Linked DNA regions of Homo sapiens: all the other regions are linked to region 1. The links are contacts of gene promoters, found by promoter capture Hi-C in blood cells and fetal thymus (Javierre and others, 2016). All regions are on one chromosome and are shown on one strand. Each heading gives the region's core, a stretch centred on a gene start or on the middle of the fragment in contact. The rest is flanking DNA. Distances are from core to core; before and after follow the strand shown. Region 1 holds the start of ARL5C (ARF like GTPase 5C). Region 2 overlaps FBXO47 (F-box protein 47). Region 3 overlaps LOC105371767 (a long non-coding RNA gene). Region 4 overlaps LASP1 (LIM and SH3 protein 1). Region 5 holds the start of FBXO47 (F-box protein 47).

Region 1 (5,529 bases), core at 1,509-4,008:
TTTCCTTCTCTCTCTCTCTTTCTTTCTTTCACAGAGTCTCACTCTGTCGCCCAGTCTGGAGTGTAGGTACGATCATGTCTCCCAGGTTCAAGCAATTCTCCCGCCTCGGCCTCCTGAGTAGCTGGGATTACAGGAGCACACCCCCACGCCAGGCTTATTTTTGTATTTTTGTAGAAACGGGGTTTCGCCATGTTGGCTGGGCGAGTCTCGAACTCCTGACCTCAAGTGATCCATCCACCTTGGACTCCCAAAGTGCTGGGATTACAGGCATGAGCCACCGCATCCGGCCACAGTTTTGCTTTTTTTTTTTTTTTTTCCTTGAGATGTAGTCTCTCTCTGTCGCCCAGGTTGGAGTGCAGTGGCACAATCTCAGCTCACTGCAACCTCCGCCTCCCTTTGTCGCCCAGGCTGGAGTACAGTGGCGCAGTCTCAGCTCACTGCAACCTCTGCCTCCCGGGTTCAAGTGATTCTCCTTCCTCAGCCTCCAGAGTAGGTGGGATTACAGGCATGTGCCACCACGCCCAGCTAATTTTTATATTTTTTTAGTAGAGATGGGGTTTCGCCATGTTGGCCAGGCTGGTCTCGAACTCCTGTCCTCAGGTAGATCCACCCACTTCAGCCTCTCAAAGTGCTGGGATTACAGGCGTGAGCCACCTTGCTCAGCCCTTTGTTGTTGTTGTTGTTGTTGTTGTTGTATTTTTAGTAGAGACGAGGTTTCACCATGTTGGCCAGGCTGCTCTTGAACTCCTGATCTCAGGTGATCCGCCCGCCTCGGCCTCCCAAAGTGCTGCGATTACAGGCACTTTGAGAGCAACAGCGCCCGGCCATGGTTTTGCATTCCTAATAAGCTTTCAGGTGATGCCTGTGTGACTGGTCTGTAGACCACACTTTGAGGAGCAAGAGTTTAGAAAAATGAGACAGACACAGTGAGGGACATCAGAGAGGTGCTTTGTTTAAAGTGACATAGAAAATATACACATGCTTTTATATGTAAATAATGCTTCTGAAAAGTTACGCAAAGTTACAATAGGAGGAAAACTAGGAGCCAGAGGCAAGAAGGAAACTTACTTTTCACCGTGTATTCCTCCATTGTTTGAAATTTTCCTTTATAATTTTTTAAAATCATTACATGTATTACTTTTTCATGGAAAAGCTTCTCCTAAGTAAAGTACTTTGGAGGCTGTAAAATGGGAGAGGTGCCATCCAGAGAGCGAATATCGGGGAAAGCTGCGATCGGTATTTACTCAGCACCACCCATATGTGCCAGGCTTGCTAGACCAGGAGCTACAGAGCCTCAGTGAGCCTTTGGGTTTGAAGAAGGGGAAGAAAGTTAACTGGCAGAGGGGACAGGGGTGAGAAAGGAGGGACCTGCCGCTAGAGGGAGCGAAGAGCAGGGAGGCAGTTTGGGACACTTGGCAGGCCTGGAGCTGGGTTTGGCAGGGCCCCCGGGAAGATGGAGGAAAGCAGTGGGAGCTAGGGTTGCCTGTACGGTGCAGGATTTGAATGCCAGACCGAGGAGCCGCAGTACTAGGAAGGTCCAAGCAGCGTGCCCAATCGCTCCTCCGGACTACAGAGGAGCCCGGGAACCCAGGGAAGAGCTCCAGTGATTGGTCCCCCTGCCTGTCAGTCTGGTGGGAGGCCCAGCTCTCTACCCTCCCCGCCCGAGAGTCACTTACAACCGGTAGAGAATGGTGGTCTTTCCTTCATTGTCCAGTCCCACGATGATGACCGTGTGCTCTGGAAGCGTCGGAGGAAGGGCAGCGTCAGGGCCAAACCCGAAGACCAAGGGACTGTGTGCCCCCACCAGACCTCCCAGGAAGGAGATAGCGCTCCCCGCAGGCTGGGGACCTCTGCCCACCGTACCGCGTCTGCTTCCCACCCAGCTCCGACACCTGCCCCACTCCGGGACGGTGGAAAAGACAGCTGAGCCCCCACCTCCCTTCACATTCCAGAAAAGTGTCTGAAAGGCCCGGGGCGCTTCGGGGCTTGCCAAGAGACGGTGTTTAGAGAAAGAGCATAACGCGAAGTCACAATCGCAGGAAACTCGCAGCAGCCCCCCATCCCCGCCGCTGGCTCCGTTTAGCGGGGAGAAAGGAGGGTCGCCCAGCTTTGCGTCCTGGGGCGCACCGAAGCGCCGGGACCCAAGAGGAGCAGGCAGGGACGGGGGCAGGGGAGGCCGCGGGGCAGTCGAGGAGCGCCCATATACGACCCTCGGAGCCCGAGGTCCCCCCGTGCGTCCGACCACAGATCAGAGGAGTCCCAGAAGAGGGCGAGATCAAAGCGCTCGCTTGGATGCCCTGTGCGCCCCTTACCCTGGTTCCCGAAGATGCTCATTAACTTGGCGATCAGCTGTCCCATGGCACTTCCCGGGCCGGACAGGTGCAGGAGGGCTCAGCGGCCTCAGGAGCGGAGTCGGCCCTGGTATTCGGAGCTCCGCTCCCCCGGGAGGGTCTGGCAGATTTTGCCTACGAAGTTAGGGAAGCCCCACACGTCACCAACCTGACCTGGGAACCCTCTGGGACGCTGGCCCTTCGTGGGCACTATGGACACCCCAGTGACTAAGGGCTGCCTGTCCCGGGCCCAAGAGGTGCAAGGAATATGGGGGTTCCAGGCTCCAGCCCTCCCCCTCGCCCTGCGAAAACTCCTGAGTTCTCCGGGTGGACTGCTCCACTACCGCAAATCAGGGGAGACTCAGCACTGCGCGCGGAACCGGATCCCAGCTCTCCCTCCTCTGAGTGCCATGTCTAGGGCACTAGACTGAAGCAAAACCCCAGGCGACCCACTTTCTGTACCTACCAGCTGTGTAGTACAGACAGGGCTCACCGATCCTCTCTGAGCTGGGAGAATATTCCAACCCTCCACAGATGTGCAGTTGGTTCACTAGCGTGGGTCTTGTGGGCCCACTCAAATTGCATTCCCCTGGGGAAGGGCAGGGTCTCCCCTTGATGCTTGGCAACTTCTAGGATAAATCAGTACTCCTACAATTCACGGACAAACCTACTGCCCAGGCACAGCTTCCTGATCCCCAAAAGTGGGCGCCTGAAGACAAGGATGGAGCATGAAGAGAGATCCTCCGGCTGGAGACCCTGCAGAGAGGCCCCAGATACCTGGCAGAGGAGTACATGGGCCAACAGAGAACCAGGAGGCCAGGCCTGAGGAGGGAATGGAAGGTGGAGTTTCCTGCTGTTGCTTGTGAATTTCTTTCTTTGCTTAAGCTGGGGGGAAAAAAACAAAAAATCAGATAACAAAAGGAGAAGTCCAAAAGGCAACGTGCCCTCAGGCTGCAGGAATGGTTAGCAGGAGATCCAGCCAACACACCAGGGAGCCAGCTCCTTCCACCCGACTGTACTGCCTTCCTGCAGCCTCCACTAAGGTAACAACCCTCCATTAAGGTAACAACTTTCTAACTGGTCTCCCTGCATCTTCCTCTCCTTTCCCAAGGCATCCTCTCCATGGCCCCTATTAACCTTCCTAAAGCACAGCTCAGGGTCTGTAACTCCCCCAGCTCATAGATCTTCAATGGCTCCCTATTGCTCACTGGATTCAGATCAGTCTCCACTTGACATTCAAGAGCTTCCACGAACAGCCCCCACCTGCCTTCACAGGTTTATCTCCCAGGCTCTGTATCTACTGGTTCCTGCCTATACATGCCTGGCTCTTTCTGATGGTGCCTTTGCTTCTGCATTTCCTCCTTGAGTGCCTTTCACCTTCTCAGAAAGGAGAATGCCTGAGACCCATTAGCTGCCCTGCCATAAAAGCCACCTGCTTCCCCAGCCCTGACTTGGTTCTCCAGCCACATGGGGCTTCTCCCTACACTGGGCTTATAGACGGGCAAGTCTGTTTCCTCCCATCAACTGTGAGTACCAGGGTGGGATTCATATATTGTTAACCAGCATATGACCTCCCCCGCCAGCCCAATCACTCCCTGCCTGGTCCAGAACCCTGCACACAGGAGGAATGTGTTGCTGTCAGACTGATGTAGAATGAGTTAAGCTACAGCCTGAGAAATGGCACTTGGAGTATTAAAAAAGGAATGTGAACACAAGTTTAAGAGGATTGAGGAAGGCTGGGAAGTTTGCGGGAAGAAGAAGGAAAATAGCTGACTAAATACAGACTTTCATCCCACCCTGCTTGGTGCCCAGAGTTAGAAGGATAGAGTTGACTGCCAGAGCCCATCTGGGCTGATTGCATTTCAGCCTTAGGAGAGAAGGAGCCAAGTCTGGGGCTGGGGGGTGGGGCACCAAGGGTGCTGAGGGAAGCAGCAGTGTCTTAAGCATTTTACCATCTGTTTCCTGGGGTTAGTGGGATGCGGGGAGGAACATCTTAGTGCATGCTGCCCTCCCCACCTCCTCTTTGCAGAATTGAAAGTAACACTCTGCAAGCTGGAAACACATTCAGTAAACAGACAAGGAGAGGGCATCTCTCTGAGCATACTCTGGCTCTGGAAGCTGCCTGATTAAAAAAAATAATAATTAAAAGAGAAAAGAAGAAAAAAAAAAGAAAAGAAAATAGAAAAACAGACGAGAAGATCTGCCTCCACTTTGAGGCCCAGGACCTGGATCTTAAGAAGCATTCATTCGTTCATTCATTCATTTGACAAATATGAGCCAGGAAATACATGAAGTAGACAAAACAGACCTAGTCCAGGTGTTTATGTTTTTGTTTTGTTTTGTTTTGTTTTGTTTTTTTGAGACAGAACCTTGCTCTGTCACCCAGGCTGGAGTCCAGTGGCAGGATCGCGGCTCACTGCAGCCTCAACCTCCCAGGCTCAAGTGATCCTCCCACCTCAGCTTCCTGAGTAGCTGGGAGTAGAGGTGAAAGCCACCACTCCCAGCTATTTTTTTTTTTTTTTTTTTTTTGTAGAGATGGGCTTCGCCATTGGTCTCCAACTCCTGGACTCAAACAATCTCCCGCCTCAGCCTCCCAAAGTGCTGGGATTACAGGTATGAGCCACTGCTCCCATTCCCAGTCTGGGTCTTTATGGAGCTTGTGGTCTAGAGAGAGAGACAGATACACACACACACACCCCTCTGAGAGACAGTAGGAAGGCCTGATTTAGAAAGAAAGCAAGGCACCCTTCTCTGAAGAAAATGAGAGGTGAACCTAGCTGGACTTCCTGGGTCGAGCGGGGACTTGGAGAACTTTTCTGTCTTACAAGAGGATTGTAAAACGCACCAATCAGCGCTCTGTAGCTAGCAAGAGGATTGTAAAATGCACCAATCAGTGCTCTGTAAAAACGCACCAATCAGTGCTCTGTAGCTAGCAAGAGGATTGTAAAATGCACCAATCAGTGCTCTGGAAAATGCACCAATCAGCACTCTGTAAAACGCACCAATCAGCAGGATCCTAAAAGTAGCCAATCACAGGGAGGATTGAAAAAAAGGGCACTCTGGCAGGGTGCAGTGGCTCGGGCCTGTAATCCCAGCACTTTGGGAGGCCGAGGGGGGCAGATCACGAGGTCAGGAGTTCGAGACCAGCCTGACCAACATGGTGAAACCCCATCTCTACTAAAAATGCAAAAATTAGCTG
Region 2 (4,788 bases), core at 1,002-3,501, 230 kb before region 1:
TAGATTAGAAGTCAGAAGAAAAGGATGCTCATCCATGCTTTATTGCTTCTAACTTTGAGACCTTGGTAAGTCAGGTAACTTCTCTAAGCCTTAGTTTTCTCATCTGTAAAATAGGGTTAATTATCATGTTGGTTACTTAATAAAGCTGTAAAATAATATTTACAAATATATTTTTATGCTAGTGACAGTTGGTAAGTGAGCAAGTTAAATTTTTTTGCTGTGCAAAATTGAAAGTGGTTCCTTTCAAAGCAGACTCTTCAACTTTATATTCTCCATTAAAACCAATACCAGATTTTTAAAGTGACGAAAGCCAGGAACTAAATATATTGCAAGGAAAAACAAACAAAAGTCCGCTTCCTCTACTTATTGTTAGTTTTTATTTTTTAAAGTCAACATAGAAATAGCTTTTTTTTTTTTTTCCATTCTTGGACTGTTAGAGAAAAATATCTCTGTTTTAGGTGGAGACTAGAGCGCATTTTTACGCACACCTGTGCACCAAGTACATTCCTACTCACCAGACATAATTGATTGCAGCATTTCCATTATAACACATGCAAATGCATTTGCCACATTCTGCAGGAAGTTCTTTCTTTCCACTGGAGTGCTAAAGACTTTGCAGACTTTTTGCATCATTTTAACTGTCCAATCCATGCAGTACAGTTCTTTCTCACACACCTGATTTAGACATATAAAGCGCTATAAACCTTCATGTGAAGAAAGCTATAGAATTTGAAAATGGTGAACAATGATGAATAATTATAGTTTGTGATTTTACATAATTTATGATACCTGACACCATACTGAGTCTATACATGGGAAATGCTCTTCTATCTAATACTATTTTGCTTTCAAATGGTACAATTTTAATGGGAAAAAAGTATGAAGTAAATACAAGCCTAATTTAAGATTATCATAGAAGAATATTTACTAATGAAATAACTAATATTGAAAACAGGCCAGGCACGCTGGCTCATGCCTGTAATCCCAGAACTTTGGGAGGCCAAGGTGGGCAGATCACCTGAGGTCAGGAGTTCGAGACCAGCCTGGCCAAAATGGTGAAACCCTGTCTCTACTAAAATACAAAAATTAGCCAGACATGGTAGCGAGCACCTATAATCCCACCTACTCAGGAGGCTGAGGCAGGAGAATCACTTGAACTCAGGAGGCGGAGGATGCAGTGAGCGGAGATCATACCACTGCACTCCAGCCTGGGGGACAGAGCCAGACTCCATCTCCAAAAAAAAAAAAAAAAAAAAAAAAAAAAAAATATATATATATATATATATATGTATTGAAAACAGTTACTGAACATAGAAAAAAAATTTCTGCTCATTTACTCATTCAATAAACATTTATTGAGCACCTGCTAGGAGCTGAAGATACAATGACAAACCATAAAGACATGGCTCTATTTTCAAGAAGTCCAATGAAGGTGATAGACAAATGGGCAATTTCAATAAGCAAGAGAATTCTATGGTATTGTCGACTTTCCATCTTGAGAATTTTAGGGAATATTTGTTTCTTCATTATTGAAAAGATAAATATTTAAAGATTACATGTTCCTAGCTAAAACTGACTGAAAAGTAAAAGGTTTCTTTTTTTTTTTTTTTTTTTTTTTTTTGAGACGGAGTCTCACTCTGTCGCCCAGGCCGGACTGCGGACTGCAGTGGCGCAATCTCGGCTCACTGCAAGCTCCGCTTCCCGGGTTCACGCCATTCTCCTGCCTCAGCCTCCCGAGTAGCTGGGACTACAGGCGCCCGCCACCGCGCCCGGCTAATTTTTTGTATTTTTAGTAGAGACGGGGTTTCACCTTGTTAGCCAGGATGGTCTCAATCTCCTGACCTCATGATCCACCCGCCTCGGCCTCCCAAAGTGCTGGGATTACAGGCGTGAGCCACCGCGCCCGGCCAAGGTTTCTTTACTAACATCCTTAATTGCCAATCTAACTCACATAGCCAAATAAATAATGCATATTATTAAAATAAACTGTATAGTAGTGTAACTAAATAATAGCACTGTGATAGGAAAGATCTATTGACTATTTATTATGTGTAAAGCACTGTATTATGAACTATGAAAGAAATAAGTGACACAGTACTGGATTTCAAAGAGCTTGCAGTCTATTTTGGGAGATGACCTACTCCACACATACAGTGGCTTAAGGACACTAATAGTAGATGAAGATAGAGAAGACAAATCAGAGGTAATTCAGAGAACTTTAATGATCAGAATTGACATGTTAATCAGAGAAGGCTTTCTAGAGAAGGCTTCCCCACCCCTAGTGATTTTCTCTTCATTACATTTGCTATAGTGCTGCCAAAATGATCTGCCAAAAACACAAAGCCAATTATGTCTCTCCCCTTCATAAAACTTTTCAGTAGCTCCCTATTAGAAAATGGGTTCAAGCTCCACAGAATGGCCCACAAAACCCTTCCTTACCTAGCCTCTCCCTTCATGTCTAACCTCACCTCCTGCTACTCTTCTGCAGATTCTACCCTTCAGAAATCATACTGAACTGCTTACAGTGTCCTGAATACAGTCACATGATCCCATTTTTCTTCTGCCTTGAATAATCTGCTGCCACCCTCTATCTGCCTGGTGAACTCCTACTTATTCATTTACTTATTTATTTTTTAGAGACAGGGTCTCCCTCTGCTATGCAGACTGAAGTGCAGTGGCGTGACCATAGCTCACTGCAGCTTCAAACTCCTGGGCTCAAGTGATCCTCCTGCCTCAGCCTTCTGAGTAGCAGGGACGATAGACACACACCACCACACCCAGCTAGTTTTATTTTATGTTTTGTAGAATTGAGGCTTTCCCTATATTGCCCAGGATGGTCTTGAATTCCTGGCTTCAAGTGATCCTCTGGGCTCAGCCTCCCAAAGAGCTGGGATTATAGACATGAACCAATGCACTCAGCCTTTTATTTAAGTAATTTATTTTTTGAGATGAGATCTCATTCTGTTGCCCAGGCTAGAGTGCAGTGGTGCTATCTTGGCTCACCACAGCCTTGACCACCCAGACTCAAGTGATCTTCCCACTTCAGCTCCTGAGTAGCTGAGCTCACAGGCACGCATGCCACAACTCCTGGCTAATTTTTAAATTTTTTATTATTTATTTATTTATTTTTTTGAGACAGCATCTCACTCTGTCACCTAGGCTGGAGTGCAGTGGCATGATCTGCTCACTGCAACCTCCGCCTGCCAGGCTCAAGTGATTCTCCTGCCTCAGCCTCCCGAGTAGCTGGGATTACAGGCACCTGCCACCACACCTGGCTAATTTTTGTATTTTTAGTAGAGTTGGCATTTCACCACTTTGGCCAGGCTAGTTTCGAACTCCTGACCTCAGGTGATCCGCCTGACTCAGTCTCCCAAAGTGCTGGGATTACAGGCATGAGCCATCATGTCCGGCCAATTTTTAAACATTTTTATTATAGAGACAGGGTCTTGCTGTGTTTTCCAGGCTGCTCTCGAACTCCTGGGCTCAAGAATCTCATAATTTATGGCCCATAGTAAGCACTCAATACAAATTTGTGTTAAATGAATATTAAATAAATATAATATTATATATATATATATATATATATATGTATGTGTATATGTATGTGTGTGTGCGTGTGTGTGTGTATTGAGAGGGGAGAGGGTCTCGTTCTGTTGCCCAGACTGGAGTACAGTGGCACAATTTTGGTTCACTGTAACCTTAAACTCCCAGGCTCAATCAATCCTCCCACCTCAGCCTCCTGAGTAGCTGGGACCACAGATGTTGCCAACACACCGAGCTAATTTTTGTATTTTTTTGTAGAGACGGGTTTCGCCATGTTGACCAGGCTAGTCTTGAACTCCTGGACTCAAGTGATCCTCCTGTCTCAGCCTCTCAAAGTGCTGGGTTTATTACAGGTGTGAGCCATCCCGTCCGGCCTAAATATATTTTTAAGACTTTTTATTTTGAAACATTTTGACTATACAAAATTAGAGAGAATAATATAATAAACTCCCAGTACTCATTTCCCAGTTTCAACAATTATCAATCTTATTTCAACTCTATCTCCATTTACTCCCAAGTCCTCTCCCCAACCCACCCCCACAGTGATTATTTTGAAGTAAATCAAATGGGATGCTTTTTTTAACATGGAATTTTTTTTTAAAAAGAATATAACTTAGCAGAACTGTATAATGAAAATCCAGACTTGAAGTGGGGAGAAGTTAATAGAAGGGATGATTCCAAATATTATAGTTTATGACATGTTTTAATATTAGGCCAGGTGTGGTGGCTCACACCTGTAATCCCAGCACTTTGGGAGGCCAAGGCGGGCAGATCATGAGGTCAGGAGTTCGAGACCAGCCTGGCCAGCATAGTGAAACCCCGTCTCTACTAAAAACACAAAAATTAGCTGGGGCATAGTGGTGCATGCCTTTAGTCCCAGCTACTCAGGAGGCTGAGGCAGGAGAAATGCTTGAACATGGGAGGTGGAAGTTGCGGTGAGCCGAGATCGCACCACTGCACTCCAGCCTGGACAAAAGAGTGAGACTGTCTCAAAAAACAAAACAAAACAAAAGAAAACATATGTTTTAATATTTTGAAAAAGAAACATTAAAAATATATACTTCAATACTCATTTTTACAAAATCTTTTGTCCACATTTCAGTTCCTTCAGGGCAGCTCCCTGTAGGTCAATTGTAGTGTTAAAAAACTTGCTAGAGAAAAACTTATTTTTACTTACCAAAGCCAAAAAGACTACGAGCCTTGCCAGTTCAATGGTGCGTCCATTCACAGCTTTACTAGCCATGA
Region 3 (4,913 bases), core at 2,385-4,884, 160 kb before region 1:
CATTTCTTCCTCCTTCCCAATCCATGGTGTTATTAATTTGTGTTAGATTAATATTCCTCAGGTCTTGTGACAATTCCGCCAGTCCCCTTCATTGGCTGTCCATTGCTATGTCTAAGTCCTCAGTACATTTTTATGAGTTTTTAAAAATTTCCCCATCCTGCTTCTCTACATGCGTCTCCAGGGTTCTCCTCTCCTGCTCTCCACCACCCATCGTTTACTGGGAATTCTCTGAAAATGCATTGTTCCTGCCCCTGTGCCTTTCTTCTTATAATTCCCTCCTCCATCACTCTGGCTGTAAAAATTCTAATTATCGCCAGGTGCGGTGGCTCACGCCTGTAATCCTAGCACTTTGGGAGGCCGAGGTAGGCGGATCACTTGAGGTCAGGAGTTTGAGACCAGTCTGACCAACATGGTGAAACCTCATCTCTACTAAAAATACAAAAAGTAGCTGGGCGTTGTGGCGCAAGCCTGTAATCCCGCTACTCGGTAGGCTGAGGCAGGAGAATGGCTTGAACCTGAGGGGCGGAGGTTGCAGTGAGCCAAGACTGCACCACTGCACTCCAGCCTGGGTGACAGTGAGACTCCAACTCAAAAAAAAAAAAAAAAGTCCTAACCATGGGTCTATTTTGAGCCGTGACTCCAGCAGGTATAACTCTTCCCTCCAGCAGTGCTTCCAACCCCCTCGTCATTCTCACTGTGGCACAAAACGAATGATTCAACCAGCAAACCATCTGCTAGAGTCACAGAGAGCTGCAGCAACCCCCAGCTTTGTGGGGTTAACAAGCAAACCCTGAGAGCCATCTCCACCAGCAACAAGGGTCCCGTGTTAGGGGCAGACGTCCCTGAGCAGTCAGGGGAAACCTTGCACTTATCCAAGAGCACAAATAGGACCAAAGCCCCCAACACGCCATAAGGGCCATCAGCAGCATCATCGCGAGGAGGGACTGCAGAGTAGAACCCATCGTGTGGCCTCTAGAGTCCATAGTACATGGCTGGGTAGAGCAAACTGCTCACAGTTCTGGGGCACATTCTACATCTCACATGCCACCAGCTCCTCCCCTATGCTTTCCTGATTTTCTCATCACACGTTGATGCTACTGCTTTTCCGTATTGCCCCTCATGACATCTGCTGTGGTATTTGGTACCTTTTGCCTAGGAGATCTACTTTTTTTTTTTCTTAGACGGAGTCTCACTCTGTCGCCCAGTCTGGAGTGCAGTGGTGTGATCTCGACTAATTGCAGCCTCCGCCTCCCGGGTTCCAGTGATTCTCCTGCCTCAGTCTCCTGCGTGGCTGGGATTACAGTCGTGCGCCACCATGCCCAGCTAATTTTTGTATTTTTAGTAGAGACGGGGTTTCACCATGTCGGGCAGGCTGGTCTCGAACTCCTGACCTCTGACCTCAGGTGAACTGCCTGCTTCAGCCTCCCAAAATGCTGGGATTACAGGCGTGAGCCAGCGCCCCCGGCCAAGATCCACTTCTTTGTGTACCTTTTTTTTTTTTTTTTAAGAGAGAGGATCTAGATCTGTCACCCAGGCTGGAGTGCAGTGGCATGATCACAGCTCACTGCACTCAACCTCAACCACCCCAGTTCAAGCTCTGCCTCAGCCTCCCTAGTAGCTAGGACTACACGTGCACACCACCATGCCCAGCTAATTTTTAACATTATTTTTGGTAGAGATGAGGGCTCACTATGTTTCCCAGACTGGTCTTGAACTCCTGGGCTCAAGCGAACCTCCTGCCTCAGCCTCCCAAAGTGCTAAGGTTACAGGCTTGAGCCACCGTACCTGGCTCTTTGTGTACTTTTGTCTCATCCACCCTAACTACTAAACTCCCAAGCTTGTTAGGACAGTGATCACAAGCCCTGGAGCATGGGAGAAGGAGATTACTAAGTATCCGTGGACTCCAATGCAGGGAGATTTCTTCCATGGCAGGATAGGGGAGGAACCATAGCCTAGTCTTGGTACTTTCCAGGGTGACTCTCAGGGTGGCTTACACACACACACACACACACTCACCCACACTCACACACTCTTTCTCTCACTCTCTCTTAAGAAATGCTGCTGATTGATAGGTTTAGCCTCTGAAGGGAGTATCTTCTCTTCCCTACTATTCCAGCACAGAATAGAATTTTGAACCAAATGGGAATCTGAACTACAAGAATCTAATCAAAATTTTAAAACCTGAGTGTTAGGTTCTTGGCACATCTGAAAGCACCTAGCTTAATGTCTGAGACATAGGTATGTTCAGAAATGTGAATCTTATCACACACACACACACACACACACACACACACACACACACACACACACCAGGGAACCATGTAACAGGTTCTGAGACAGCACAGCCGGTTACATCTGGTTTCCAGTAGGCATGCCTTTCTTTCTTTCTCTTTCCTTTCCTTCCCTTCCCTTCCCTTCCCTCCCCTCCCCTTCCCTCCCCTCCCCTCCCCTTTTTCTTGACAGAGTTTTACTCTTGTTGCCCAGGCTGGAGTGCAATGGCGCGATCTCAGCTCAGTGCAACCTCTGCCTCCCGGGTTCAAGCGATTCTCTTGCCTCAGCCTCCCGAGTAGCTGGAATTACAGGCATGCACCACCACACCTGGCTAATTTTGTATTTTTAGTAGAGATGGGGTTTCTCCATGTTGGTCAGGCTGGTCTGGAACTCCCGACCTCAGGTGATCTGCCCGCCTCAAGTGCTGGGATTATAGGTATGAGCAGGTTTTCTTTATGGATCAATTGATGTTACTTAGGGGTAACATGCAGAATAGCTTGTTCCACGGGGCAAGGTGGACAGATCCTTGTGATTAAGGGGCTGCCCAGTGGGCATTCCTGGACTCAGCAGACAATGACTATGCCCCACCCACCACGTTATGCTAAAATGCCACAAGACATCCGAAGAAATGCTTTCTTCCTTTGGGGGTAATGCAAATATTGCCATTTTTCTGTTTCAAAGAACAACAAGACATTTTCTTGGTAATCTCTCACCTAAAGATATTATTTTGAGGGGGTTAAGAATGTCTTTATCTTTTAGAGACACATGTTGAACTGTTTATGGGTGAAATGACATGATATCTAATTTTCATTAAAAATGACTTAATTGGCCATGCGTGGTGGCTCATGCCTATAATTCCAACACTTTGGGAGGCCGAGGTGGGTGGATCACCTGAGGTCAGGAGTTCGAGACCAGCCTGGCCAACATGGTGAAACCCTGTCTCTACTAAAAAAAAAAATACAAAAAGTAGGCCGGGCATGGTGGCTCATGCCTGTAATCCCAGCACTTTGGGAGGCTGAGGAGGGCAGATCACCTGAGGTCAGGAGTTTGAGACCAGCCTGGCTAACATGGTGAAACCCTGTCTCTACTAAAAATACAAAAATTAGCCGGGCGTGGTGGTGGGCGCTATTCTGGAGGCTGAGGCAGGAGAATCACTTGAACCCAGGAGGAGGAGGTTGCAGTAAGCCGAGATCGCCTCATTGCACTCCAGCCTTGGCAACAAGAGTGAAACTCCATCTCACACACAAAAAAAAAAAATTAGGGAGAAGGGGGAGATGCAACAAGAGTGGCCCTGTGTTGATGGTTATTGTAACTTGGTGGCAGATATGTGGTGATTCATGGTACTAGTTTGTAGAACTTTTGTGTATATTAGAAATTTGCCATAACAGAAATTTTGTTTGTTTTTTTAGAGCACAGATTTTAGAGCAGAACAGACCTGGGTTCAAATTCCCTCTGGGTTCAAATTCCTGCTGTTTTGTCTGGGCAACCTTCCTATTTAAGTCTTCTGAACCCTGTTTCCGCGTTTGGAAAACACTCATAAGAATAATTCTCAGTTCACAAATTTGTTGCAAGTATACAAAGCACTTAAGGCATAGCCTGGAACATGATTGGCAATCAATAATCCTACGATAGCTTTACTTGAGCCTGACCATGCTAGCTATATAAACTGTACAGCTATGGTTTGAATGTCCCCTCCAAAACTCATGTTGAAATTTAATTGCCATTGTGATGGTTCTAAGAAGTAGGATTATTAAGAGGTGATTAGGTCATGAGGACTCCACCCTTATGAATAGGTTAATGTTGTTATTGCAGAAGTGGGTTTGCTATTGAGAGGGCAGGTTGTTATAAAAGCGAATTTGGCCCTCTCTTGCTTGCTCCTTCTCATGCTCTCTTGCCCTTCTGCCTTTCACTATGGGATGAAGCTGCATAAAGGACCTCACCAGATGCTGGTGTCATGCTCTTGGACTTCCCAGCCTCCAGAACTGTGAGCTAAGTACACATCTATTCCTAGTAAATTTCCCAGCATGTGGTATTCAGTTATAGTAGCATAAAACAGATGAAGACAACGACTTTTGGGATCAGCCTGCAATCATGGTTACTGGCAGAAGGCTGGCCTGAGGTACAAGTACAAATTATATACTTCAGACCCTTTACTGAAACTCCTGGAGGGCATTTATTTTATTATTATTACCTTATTTATTTTTTAGAGACAGGATATCACTCTGTCACCCAGGCTGGAATGCAGTGGCACAATCATGGTTCATTACAGCCTCAACCTTCTGGGCTCAAGTGATCCTCCTGACTTAGCCTCCAAGTAGCTGGGACTTCAAGTGCATCCCACCATGCTCAGCTAATTTTTAGCTTTTGCAGAGACTGGGGGGTGGGTCTCTCTATGTTGCTCAGGCAGGTCTTGAACTCCTGGCCTCAAGCCATTCTCTCATCTTGGCATCCTAGTGCTGGTATTATAGCTGTTTTGAGCCACCATGCCTGGCCTCTTTTATTATTTTTCAATGTGGAAAGTAGAGATGAGAGAGGACAGGGGCAATGGTGGGGTTTGTTCCTGGGTTCACAGCTCTGCTGTCACTGTGAGGGAGCTACAGAGGTGGGGAGGGGCAGACCAGGAAAGCAGACCCCTGAAATAC
Region 4 (5,369 bases), core at 877-3,376, 240 kb before region 1:
CCCTCTGGGAGTCCCCATCCCATTTTCATCCTGAGCCCAACCAGGCCCTGCCATTGGCCTCTTGTCCCTTGGCACACTTGTACCCACAGGTGAGGGGCAGGACCTGAAGGTATTGGCCTGTTCAACAATCAGTCATCATGGGTGTTTTTGTCAACTGCTTGTTAATTGATTTGGGGATGTTTGCCCCGAATGAGAGGTTGAGGAAAAGACTGTGGGTGGGGAGGCCCTGCCTGACCCATCCCTTTTCCTTTCTGGCCCCAGCCTAGGTGGAGGCAAGTGGAATATCTTATATTGGGCGATTTGGGGGCTCGGGGAGGCAGAGAATCTCTTGGGAGTCTTGGGTGGCGCTGGTGCATTCTGTTTCCTCTTGATCTCAAAGCACAATGTGGATTTGGGGACCAAAGGTCAGGGACACATCCCCTTAGAGGACCTGAGTTTGGGAGAGTGGTGAGTGGAAGGGAGGAGCAGCAAGAAGCAGCCTGTTTTCACTCAGCTTAATTCTCCTTCCCAGATAAGGCAAGCCAGTCATGGAATCTTGCTGCAGGCCCTCCCTCTACTCTTCCTGTCCTAAAAATAGGGGCCGTTTTCTTACACACCCCCAGAGAGAGGAGGGACTGTCACACTGGTGCTGAGTGACCGGGGGCTGCTGGGCGTCTGTTCTTTACCAAAACCATCCATCCCTAGAAGAGCACAGAGCCCTGAGGGGCTGGGCTGGGCTGGGCTGAGCCCCTGGTCTTCTCTACAGTTCACAGAGGTCTTTCAGCTCATTTAATCCCAGGAAAGAGGCATCAAAGCTAGAATGTGAATATAACTTTTGTGGACCAATACTAAGAATAACAAGAAGCCCAGTGGTGAGGAAAGTGCGTTCTCCCAGCACTGCCTCCTGTTTTCTCCCTCTCATGTCCCTCCAGGGAAAATGACTTTATTGCTTAATTTCTGCCTTTCCCCCCTCACACATGCACTTTTGGGCCTTTTTTTATAGCTGGAAAAAACAAAATACCACCCTACAAACCTGTATTTAAAAAGAAACAGAAATGACCACGTGAAATTTGCCTCTGTCCAAACATTTCATCCGTGTGTATGTGTATGTGTGTGAGTGTGTGAAGCCGCCAGTTCATCTTTTTATATGGGGTTGTTGTCTCATTTTGGTCTGTTTTGGTCCCCTCCCTCGTGGGCTTGTGCTCGGGATCAAACCTTTCTGGCCTGTTATGATTCTGAACATTTGACTTGAACCACAAGTGAATCTTTCTCCTGGTGACTCAAATAAAAGTATAATTTTTACCTGCGGACTTGGTTTCCTCTCTGGCTCTGAGCTGCTGTTGTGTGTGTCTGTGTGTGGGTGTGTGTCTCTAGCTGTAAGGTGCTGCTGTGTGTGTGTGTGTCTAGCTGTAAGGTGCCACTGTGTGTGTGTGTGTGTGTGTGTCCTGTCTGCTTGGGGGCACTGGCCTGTGGCCCTCCTGGGACCTCTGCTGCCCCTCGGGGAGAGAATGACTTGTCTGGATGCCAAGGGGGAGTTTGCTGCTGTCTGTCAGGCCCTTGGCCCCTACTTCCTCCTTGCTGAGAACTCCCCACCAACCTACTTCTGGCTTTCCACCCGCTCATTCCTCTCTGCCCAACTTGGTGATGCTCCCGGAAGCTTCCCTGAGCTCCGTCTCGTATTACTGTGTCACTTCCTCAGTGACATATCTGTCTCCCCACTAGCCAGAGCCCTTGGGGCAGGTGATGAGTCTAATTCATCTCTAAATCCCGGGTACCTGCCCAGGAGCGGTGCGGAGCTGTTGAATTAATGAATGAGCTTGGCTGGGGAGCAGTTCTAGCACTCTGCCGCTGCCAGGCAGAGAGCAGGAGCTCCACGCATTTGAGGAACGAGATGACAGGGCATTCCACAGTGGGACGGGACCTGGATAAAGCTGTCTGTAAGGTGGCCTGGCAACCCAAAGCACTATTCACAGTGCCTTCTGAATGTAATCTTTAATACACATCCCCTTTCTTCCTTCTTCCTCACAACCCTGTGAGAGAAGTAACTACTTATAGAGGGGCTCACTGAAACCCAGAAAGGCAAAGCAGATTGGTGGCAGTCACAGCTAGTGGCAGAGTGGGGCCTGAGACCCCCATGTGATGCTCACAGTCTGGTGCTGTGCCACCCGGCCATGGCAGGCCGCGTGCCTGTGTCTGTGGCAGCTCTTAGATGTGTGTCTCCTGGGCTCCATGTTTTGCTCCAGGTGCCCAGGGTCTGTGACTGGCCAGAAGGCCAGGCGGCCTCCCCTCTTGCTCATTGGGCTTGGGAAGAGGACAGTGGTAGAGAGGGGAATCTGGCCCTGCTCAGTGCTGCCAATCAGCCTCAGGTCCAGCTGCTTGAGGGGCATTTCTCTCTTGGGGCTCAGAACTAAGGAATTCTCCAGCCTCAGAATCACAGCAGGGTGGAGAGGAGGAGGGCTCTCCTGAGCTGAGCATTTGTAATCTGGAGAATGACATGGCCAGAGTCAGCTGAGCTGGGGCAATGTGGGGAGCATCCAAGGCTGCCCTGGGTGGTATAATTAGAGACAGCACTGACACCTGCTCCCCTCCAGGGGTGCAGGCAGCCCAATACTTTCCCAATAGAAGGGAATTAGTTGGCAAAGCTTGCCTCATGTCGGCCTGCCCCACTCCCCGGGAGGCTTCATTCACCTTCAGATCTATTTGATGGAACAGTGCTTTGGGGGACATTGCTGCCAAGTCTCCACTCCCTGCTCACAGAAAGCTCTGCCTCCTGGAAATGGGCCAATGGGAGGAGTTTCTGGATTTCCTTCTGGCAGTGGCCTAAGTTCCTGAGGTCTTGCATTATGAGGGGGTTACCAATATATCTTAACCCCAGGCCTTTAAAAAAAATATTATTTGGGGTGGGGGCCAAGGAGACTAGGCCTCAGAGACGTCCTAGGGAATGATTTAATTTAATAGAAAATAATTGAGGCTTATAAAAAGGCACAAAAATCCTGGCTAACACAGTGAAACCCCGTCTATACTAAAAATACAAAAAATAAGCTGGGCGCGGTGGCGGGTGCCTGTAGTCCCAGCTACTCGGGAGGCTGAGGCAGGAGAATGGCGTGAACCCGGGAGGCAGAGCTTGCACTGAGCTGAGATCGTGCCACTGCACTCCAGCCTGGGTGACAGAGCAAGACTCCGTCTAAGAATAAATAAATAAATAAATAAATAAATAAATAAATAAATAAATAAAAAGAATAAAATAATTCTCTTTTCCCCCTCAGAAGAAACCACTTGAATTTTTTAAATTTCAGGGATACCCCTGGGGAATTCTTCAGTGTCCTCTCTGTGTACAACACTATGCTGAGCTTTTGGAAGAGGATACCAAAGAAAACAAAACTAGGCCGGGTGCGGTGGTTCACACCTGCAATCCCAGCACTTTGGGAGGCTGAGGTGGGAGGATCGCTTGAGTCCAGGAGTTTGAGACCAGCCTGGGCAAAATGGCAAGACCCCGTCTCTATAAAAAAAGAAAGAAGGAAAACAAAACAGTGGGTAATGACTGCAAAGAGACGAAGGAGTGGGTGGAGGAGGGGTCTCTGGTGCTCGTCCTGTAGGTGGATCGATGTGAAAGCAGTCCACTGCAAGCTGAGCAGTGCACGTGGGGTGTAGGGGCCTTCCGGACCAACAGGGGGAGCAGTGTGGCGCAAGAGGAAGAATATGGACTTTGGTGTCAGCATGCCTAGTTTTGAATCCTGGTCTCTGACATTTTTAATTAATTAATTAATTATTTTGAGACGGAGTTTCACTCTTGTTGCCCAGGCTGGAGTGCAATGGCACAATCTCAGCTCACTGCAACCTCCACCTCCCAGGTTCAAGCGATTCTCCTGCCTCAGCCTCCTGAGTAGCTGGGATTACAGGCATGTGCCACCATGCCCAGCTAATTTTGTATTTTTAGTAGAGCTGGAGTTTCTCCATGTTGGTCAGGCTGGTCTTGAACTCCTGACCTCAGGTGATTCACCTACCTCAGCCTCCCAAAGTGTTGGGATTACAGGCATGAGCCACCACACCCAGCCTTTTACTTTTTATTTTATTTATTAATTTATTTATTTTTGAGACGGAGTCTCGCTCTGTCACCCAGGCTGGAGTGCAATGGCACGGTCTCAGCTCACTGCGACCTCTGCCTGCCGGGTTCAAGCAATTCTTTAGCCTCAGCCTCTTGAATAGCTGGGATAACAGGCACCTGCCACCACGCCCGGCTAATTTTTATTTTTATTTTTTTTTTGAGACAGAATCTTGCTCTGTAGCCCAGGCTGGGGTGCAGTGGCGCGATCTCAGCTCTGCCTCCCGGGTTCAAGCAATTCTCTGCCTCAGCCTCCCAAGTAGCTGGGATTACAGGCATGCACCACCAAGCCTGGCTAACTTTTGTATTTTTAGTAGAGACAGGGTTTCACCATCTTGGCCAGGCTGGTCTTGAACTCCTGACCTTGTGATCCACCTGCCTCGGCCTCCCAAAGTGCTGGGATTATAGGCATGAGCCACTGCGCCCGGCTGGTCTCTGACACATCTAAGCTATGAACCATTAGGGTAAGTTTCTGACCATCTCTGAGCCCCATCTATGAAAGACTCATAGGGAGGTTGAAATTGCACCACATGTACGATATCTGGCCCAGTGTAGGAAATGTATAAATGTTAGCTTCATCCCTCAGGGAAGCCCACTGAGATCCACACGAAACTTTTGTCTGTGTCTCCCCATAATGTGACCTTTAGAAGTTGCCAATGGCCCACCCAATACCCAACCATGATTTTTCTGAGATAATCTGCCCGAGGTGTGTGAGAGGAAACGCGAAGAAGGCAGTCAGGAGGATTCACTCTTGGGGGAGCTGGGTAGGATCCTATCTCCTCCTACATCCAGAGCATGCAGGCTCCATTTAGATACAAAGGGGTGGGATTGGGTTCCTGGGGAGAAATTGAGCCCCTTTGATTCTGCGGTTCTGTGGGTCTAAATCTGGCATCTCCTTGGCTATCCACCCCCAGGCTTTGTGATTGGTTGGCTGTGGTTGGTGGGGGGGCAGGAAGCTGCTGGTGGAGCTGCAGCATCCTTCAGTCTCAGGCCCCTGGGAGGGGGAGGGGAAAGAACCAGGGCTGAGCTGTGGAGTGAAGGGGAGCCATTTCTCTCCACCGACTGCAACCTCCGTGCTCACAGCTCACGGTTCACCAGAATCCAGGGGCTTGGTCGGCCTAGGAATCCACAATGCTGGATATTTTCATCCTGATGTTCTTTGCCATCATAGGCCTGGTCATTCTGTCCTACATTATCTATCTGCTCTAGTGGCCTGGAGCTGCGGCCGGAGCCTGCTGGAGAACAGCTCAGAAGGAAGGATGGAGATGAATGGCCGAGTGCCCTGCTT
Region 5 (4,875 bases), core at 1,724-4,223, 200 kb before region 1:
TACAAAAAATACAAAAATTAGCCAGGGATGGCAGTGTGCACCTGTAATCCCAGCTACTTGGGAGACTGAAGCAGGAAAATTGCTGGAACCTGGGAGGCGGAGGTTGCTGTGAGCCCAGCTAATCTGAAGGCTGAGGCATGAGAATCGCTTGAACCCGGGAGGCGGAGGCTGCAGTGAGCTGAGATCATGTCATTGCACTCCAGCCTGGGGCAACACAGTGAGACTTGGTCTCGAAAAACAAACAAACAAACAAACAAAAAATAACAATAATAATAATAGTCACTGATGAATCTTAGAAAGGGCCTACGCATCTTGATTTCAAAGACAAATATTTCTTAAACTCATTAAATGCAACTTATTAAAATCACTGATTATTTACTTACACTAAATAATTTTTTTTTTAGACAGATTATCGCTCTACTGCCCGGGCTGGAGTGCAGTGGCATGACGCGATCTCAGCTCACTGCAACCTCCCCCTCCCAGGTTCAAGTGATTCTCCTGCCTCAGCCTCCCAAGTAGCTGGGATTACAGGCGTGTGCCACCACTAGTAGCTGGGATTACAGGCGTGTGCTACCACACTCAGCTAATTTCTGTATTTTTAGTAGAGACGGGGTTTCACCATGTTGGTCAGGCTGGTCTGGAACTGCTGACCTCAGGTGAGCCACCAGCCTCAGCCTCCCAAAGTGCTGGGATTACAGGCGAAAGCCACCACGCCCGCCCATTACACTAAATAATTATTTAAACATGTGTACCACACAGCGACTTTGTGTCACTCTATTGTTCTAATTCAGAAAACAATGTCTTTTGTGTATACATATACATATACGCATAATTACAACTCCAATCGAAGGCTCCTTGTTTCTGAAGTAACAACTAAGACATTTTCATCAAAGATATATAATTGTATCTGGCCAAAATGCATTTTCTCCTTTCTACAAATTGCTAAAGTAACATTGTTACTTATACATCTTGAAATGTTACATATCAACTTACATCAATTTAAAATTGGTTACACATTTGAAAACATAACAAAGAAATTTAGTGTTTAGTGAAAAGTACACTCTGAACCTCCTTTGAAACCATACCACAGCGATTGGGGTCAGTATTCAGTGAACACTTAAATTAGGAGGTATTTTAAAATTATCATTAAAATTACACAAATAGGCCGGGCATGGTGACTCACGCCTTAATCCCAGCACTTTGGGAGGCTGAGGCCGGTGGATCACGAGGTCAGGAGATCGAGACCATCCTGGCTAACACGGTGAAACCCCTTCTCTACTAAAAAAAAAAAAAAAAAAAAAAAATTAGCCGGGCATGGTGGCACGCGACTGTAGTCCCAGCTACTCTGGAGGCTGAGGCAGGAGAATCGCTTGAACCCGGGAGGCGGAGGTTGCAGTGAGCCGAGATCACACCACTGCACTCCAGCCTGGGTGACAGAGCAAGAATCTGCCTCAAAAAAAAAAAAAAATAATTACACAAATAACAACTTTACACAATACAGCTAAACAAGAAGAAAAAAATTAAGTTCACTTATAAACACTTTGGTTTATATAATTTCAGACTTTTACATACATATATTTCTTTTTAACAAAAAAGAGGGATCACTATATATAATACTTTGTAATCTGCTTTTTTCAATGAATTCTCTTTCCATGCTAATAACCTTCTACAAGTAATCATATTTTAATGGCTATGTGTCATTCCACCAAGTAAAATAATCTTAATTTGTTTAATCCATAAGGCTGTTTGTAACCTTAACTTTTCACAGTAGGCGTTTTGTTTGTTTGTTTGCGATGGAGTTTCGCACAGTCTCCTGGGCTGGAGTGCAGTGGCGCGATCTCGGCTCACTGCAAGCTCCGCCTCCCGGGTTCAAGCGATTCTCCTGCCTCAGCCTCCCTAGTAGCTGGGATTACAGGTGCCCGCCCCCACGCCCAGCTAATTTCTGTATTTTTAGTAGAGACGGGGTTTCACCGTGTTAGCCAGCCTGGTCTCGATTTCCTGACCTCGTGATCCGCCTGCCCCGGCCTCCCAAAGTGCTGGGATTTACAGGCGTGAGCCACCGCACCCGGCCAACACAGTAGGTGTTTTAAAGCATTTTTATTACAATAGCATAAATCCGGCCTTGGCTTCTTCCTGTTTCTCTGAGAAATGTGGACAGTGGGGCTTGGGCCCGTGGGCTCTTCAAAGACTGTCAGTCACCAGGCGGGGACTTCACTGTGTCAACTGTGAACTACATACATGTTTAAAATAAATATAAACAAAAATTTAAAAATGATAAGCCCAAATTCTTCTAAAACTCAAGTCTCCACTTATAGTTCCTTATTTTCCTCACTCAGAGCTGGACGTTTCGTAGGGAAAAAGCAAGCTTTTGTGAAAATTCTAAAGGTATAATCCTAAATTATTTCTGGTTTCCGCTCACCCCTCTAGCGAATAAGAATCACAGCCCCAAATAATAATAATAAAATGATGTTTCATGCCCCCTGTTCTATCCCACTAATTTTGACCGCGCGTGAAAGGTTTTGAGGGTTCAATTGGATGAACCTCCCCGCCCCCCACACCTTTAAGATAAAAACTACATTCACAGGGATGTCTGTTTTAACATAAAACTCTTGTAAGGGCCCCACCCCATCTGTCGGGCAGCTGCCCCCAAACATCTCCAAAGCCGCAAACTAGGGAAGCCTAAAGGACAAACTGGTCAACAGGAGAATCAGACCACACGGGGTACATGTTTCGCTCCCTTCAGTCCATGAAAGATGAAATTATCGCAATAAAATACTGGGAAAAAAAACCCTCTTTTACCACAGATTTTGACAGTTTTTCCGGCTACAGAGTCACAGGAAAGTGGGAGTTAGTCGTTTTGCCCCACCATCCTCAAATTTCTTAGTGTTTAGAAAAGAAAATATCTCCTCAAGAGCTTCCCGCCAGGAGGCGAGAGGGTCACACTCCCGTAGGCTCCGGAGCTGCAGCCCTACCCACCAGGCGTCCCCGCGGCCTCTAGAATATTGTAGAATCTTCCCAAGAGCCCCCGCGGGAAGGAGGCCCGCCCCCTCATGAATAGCAAGCAGCCTCAGCTCTCGTAGTGCCCGCCTCCCTCATGAATATTGTAGATCTTCCCAGAAGCCCTAGCGGGAAGGAGGTTCCCCCCCGCCTCCCGCCTCCCCGCTTTATGAATAGCAAGAGAGCCAGCTCCCATGGTGCCCTCCGTCTCATGAATAACTAACAAGGGCGAGGTTCCTGGAGCCCAAACTCAGGCCTCAGCCACCCTTCGCTCCAAGCTGAAGACAAGAAGGGGCTGGAGCCGTTACGGTGTGGGGAAGGGGAGGGTGTAGCCCAAGATCCTGAACGTGGCGAGCCACGTCTCTGCTCCACTGCCTTTCCCTTCACCTAGTTTTGAGACAATTTTTGAGTTCCTCCCACCCCCACTGACTCCAGTAGGGCAAGTTACAAGGGGTTTCATCAAACCTTTTGGTGGAAAAAAACCTCCAGACATTCCTTTTTAAATTTGTCTTGCCGGTGCGGTGGCTCACGCCTGTAATCCCAACACTTTGGGAGGCCGAGGCGGGAGGCTCCCTTGAGTCCAGGAGTTTGAGACCAGCCTGGGCAACATAGGGAGACCCCCACCCCCAGCCATAACCCCGCTCCCGGTCTCTAAATAAACACATAAATAATAAATCTGTCTGGAATCAAAGGAAGATGTGTGTCTCCATCCTCTCAAGATGAAATCAAGACAAATCTTTCTAGCTAGGCCTTCCTGGCTAGAAGATTAAATTCTCATTCATTCATTTCTTCATTCATTCTGTAACTATTTATTGAAGCCTGCTCTGGGCCGGGCACAGGAGTAGGCCCTAAGGATGGAATAGAGAACAAGACAGATACGTTTCCTGCTTTAATGGAGTTTATTAGCCTAATGGGGAAGATAGAATGAACAGACAGAGCATCTACAGATGTTGAGAGCAGTTCCGGTGAGAGCAGCGTGACAGAGGAAATAAGACAGAATGATGGGGTGTGTGTGTGTTGGCGGAGAGCTACTTTAGATAGACTGATACTCAAGGTCCCTTTGATATGACGATTTGAGAACTGATGGAGGAGAAGGAGCCAGTCAGGAGAAGGGCTGAGGGAAGAGGGAATGGGGGAAAGATTCTACTTTTGTAGATCAATTCTACATTATACCCAACACAAAATATATAAGGAACTACATAAAGACTGAGTGGAAATTTAGGATTAGTTGGCATGCTGTTATTTTATATAGTCACATATATTCATCCATTTGGCTTTGTATCTTTTTTTTTCCTGACCTCAGGTGACCTGCGTACCTCAGCACTGCAAAGTGCTGGGATTACAGGTGTGAGCCACCACTCCTGGCCTTTTTTTTTTTTTTTTTTTTTTTTGAGACAGAGTCTTGCTCAGTCGCCCAGGCTGGAGTTCAGTGGCACGATCTCGGCTCACTGCAGCCTCTGCCTCCTGGGTTGAATTGATTATCTTGCTTCAGCCACCCAGTAGCTGGGACCACAGGTGGGCACCACCATTGTATTTTTAGCAGAGATGGGGTTTCGCTATGTTGCCCAGGCTGGTCTTAAACTCCGAGGCTCAAGCGATCTGCCTGCCTCCCAAAGTGTTGGGATTAAAGGTGTGAGCCACCGGGCCCAGCCCTGGCTTTGTATCCTTTTGCAGCCAATTCTTTTTTTTTTTTTTTTTTTTTTGAGATGAAGTCTGCCTCTGTTTCCCGGGCTGGAGTGCAGTGGTGTGATCTTGGCTCACTGCAACCTCCACCTCCCAGATTCAAGTGATTCTCCTGCCTCAGCCTCCCAGGTAGCTGGGATTACAGGCACCCACCACCATGCCCAGCTAATTTTTTTGTATTTTTTAGTAGAGATG

The links. The method cuts DNA at HindIII sites, captures the fragments that hold promoters and counts their contacts. A CHiCAGO score of 5 or more calls a contact.
Region 2: a contact is called between a fragment that was not itself captured here and the fragment with the promoter of ARL5C in region 1, in 6 of 17 cell types (naive CD8 T cells, non-activated CD4 T cells, total CD4 T cells and 3 more). The highest score is 7.2, in naive CD8 T cells.
Region 3: a contact is called between a fragment that was not itself captured here and the fragment with the promoter of ARL5C in region 1, in 8 of 17 cell types (total CD8 T cells, non-activated CD4 T cells, naive CD8 T cells and 5 more). The highest score is 7.6, in total CD8 T cells.
Region 4: a contact is called between a fragment that was not itself captured here and the fragment with the promoter of ARL5C in region 1, in 9 of 17 cell types (naive CD4 T cells, M0 macrophages, non-activated CD4 T cells and 6 more). The highest score is 8.7, in naive CD4 T cells.
Region 5: the fragment with the promoter of FBXO47 here is called in contact with the fragment with the promoter of ARL5C in region 1 in 16 of 17 cell types (naive CD8 T cells, M1 macrophages, naive CD4 T cells and 13 more); the score reaches 10.5 in naive CD8 T cells.

Annotation. Positions count from the first base shown.
Region 1 is chr17:39,163,403-39,168,931 of GRCh38, forward strand. ARL5C (ARF like GTPase 5C) reads right to left here and starts at 2,759. Exons shown (of 6, transcript NM_001143968.1): 1 at 2,313-2,759; 2 at 1,677-1,737. The coding sequence starts at 2,358. RefSeq lists enhancers at 1,586-2,387, 2,388-3,189. The HindIII fragment of the contact is 4,701 bases long and covers 1,152-5,529 here.
Region 2 is chr17:38,938,058-38,942,845 of GRCh38, forward strand. It overlaps FBXO47 (F-box protein 47), which reads right to left. Exons shown (of 11, transcript NM_001008777.3): 9 at 4,721-4,788; 10 at 516-675. Among named protein-coding and RNA genes, the nearest start is that of LASP1NB, 15 kb to the left of the region's middle. The HindIII fragment of the contact is 6,090 bases long and covers 1-4,788 here.
Region 3 is chr17:39,004,621-39,009,533 of GRCh38, forward strand. LOC105371767 (a long non-coding RNA gene) reads right to left here. Exons shown (of 3, transcript NR_188621.1): 3 at 4,426-4,913. Among named protein-coding and RNA genes, the nearest start is that of LINC02079, 20 kb to the right of the region's middle. The HindIII fragment of the contact is 3,598 bases long and covers 1,836-4,913 here.
Region 4 is chr17:38,920,482-38,925,850 of GRCh38, forward strand. It overlaps LASP1 (LIM and SH3 protein 1), which reads left to right. Exons shown (of 7, transcript NM_006148.4): 7 at 1-1,289. It overlaps LASP1NB (LASP1 neighbor), which reads left to right and starts at 5,133. Exons shown (of 2, transcript NM_001414697.1): 1 at 5,133-5,369. The coding sequence starts at 5,213. The coding sequence ends at 5,290. RefSeq lists an enhancer at 1,518-2,128. The HindIII fragment of the contact is 985 bases long and covers 1,635-2,619 here.
Region 5 is chr17:38,964,430-38,969,304 of GRCh38, forward strand. FBXO47 (F-box protein 47) reads right to left here and starts at 2,974. Exons shown (of 11, transcript NM_001008777.3): 1 at 2,800-2,974. The HindIII fragment of the contact is 5,025 bases long and covers 2,364-4,875 here.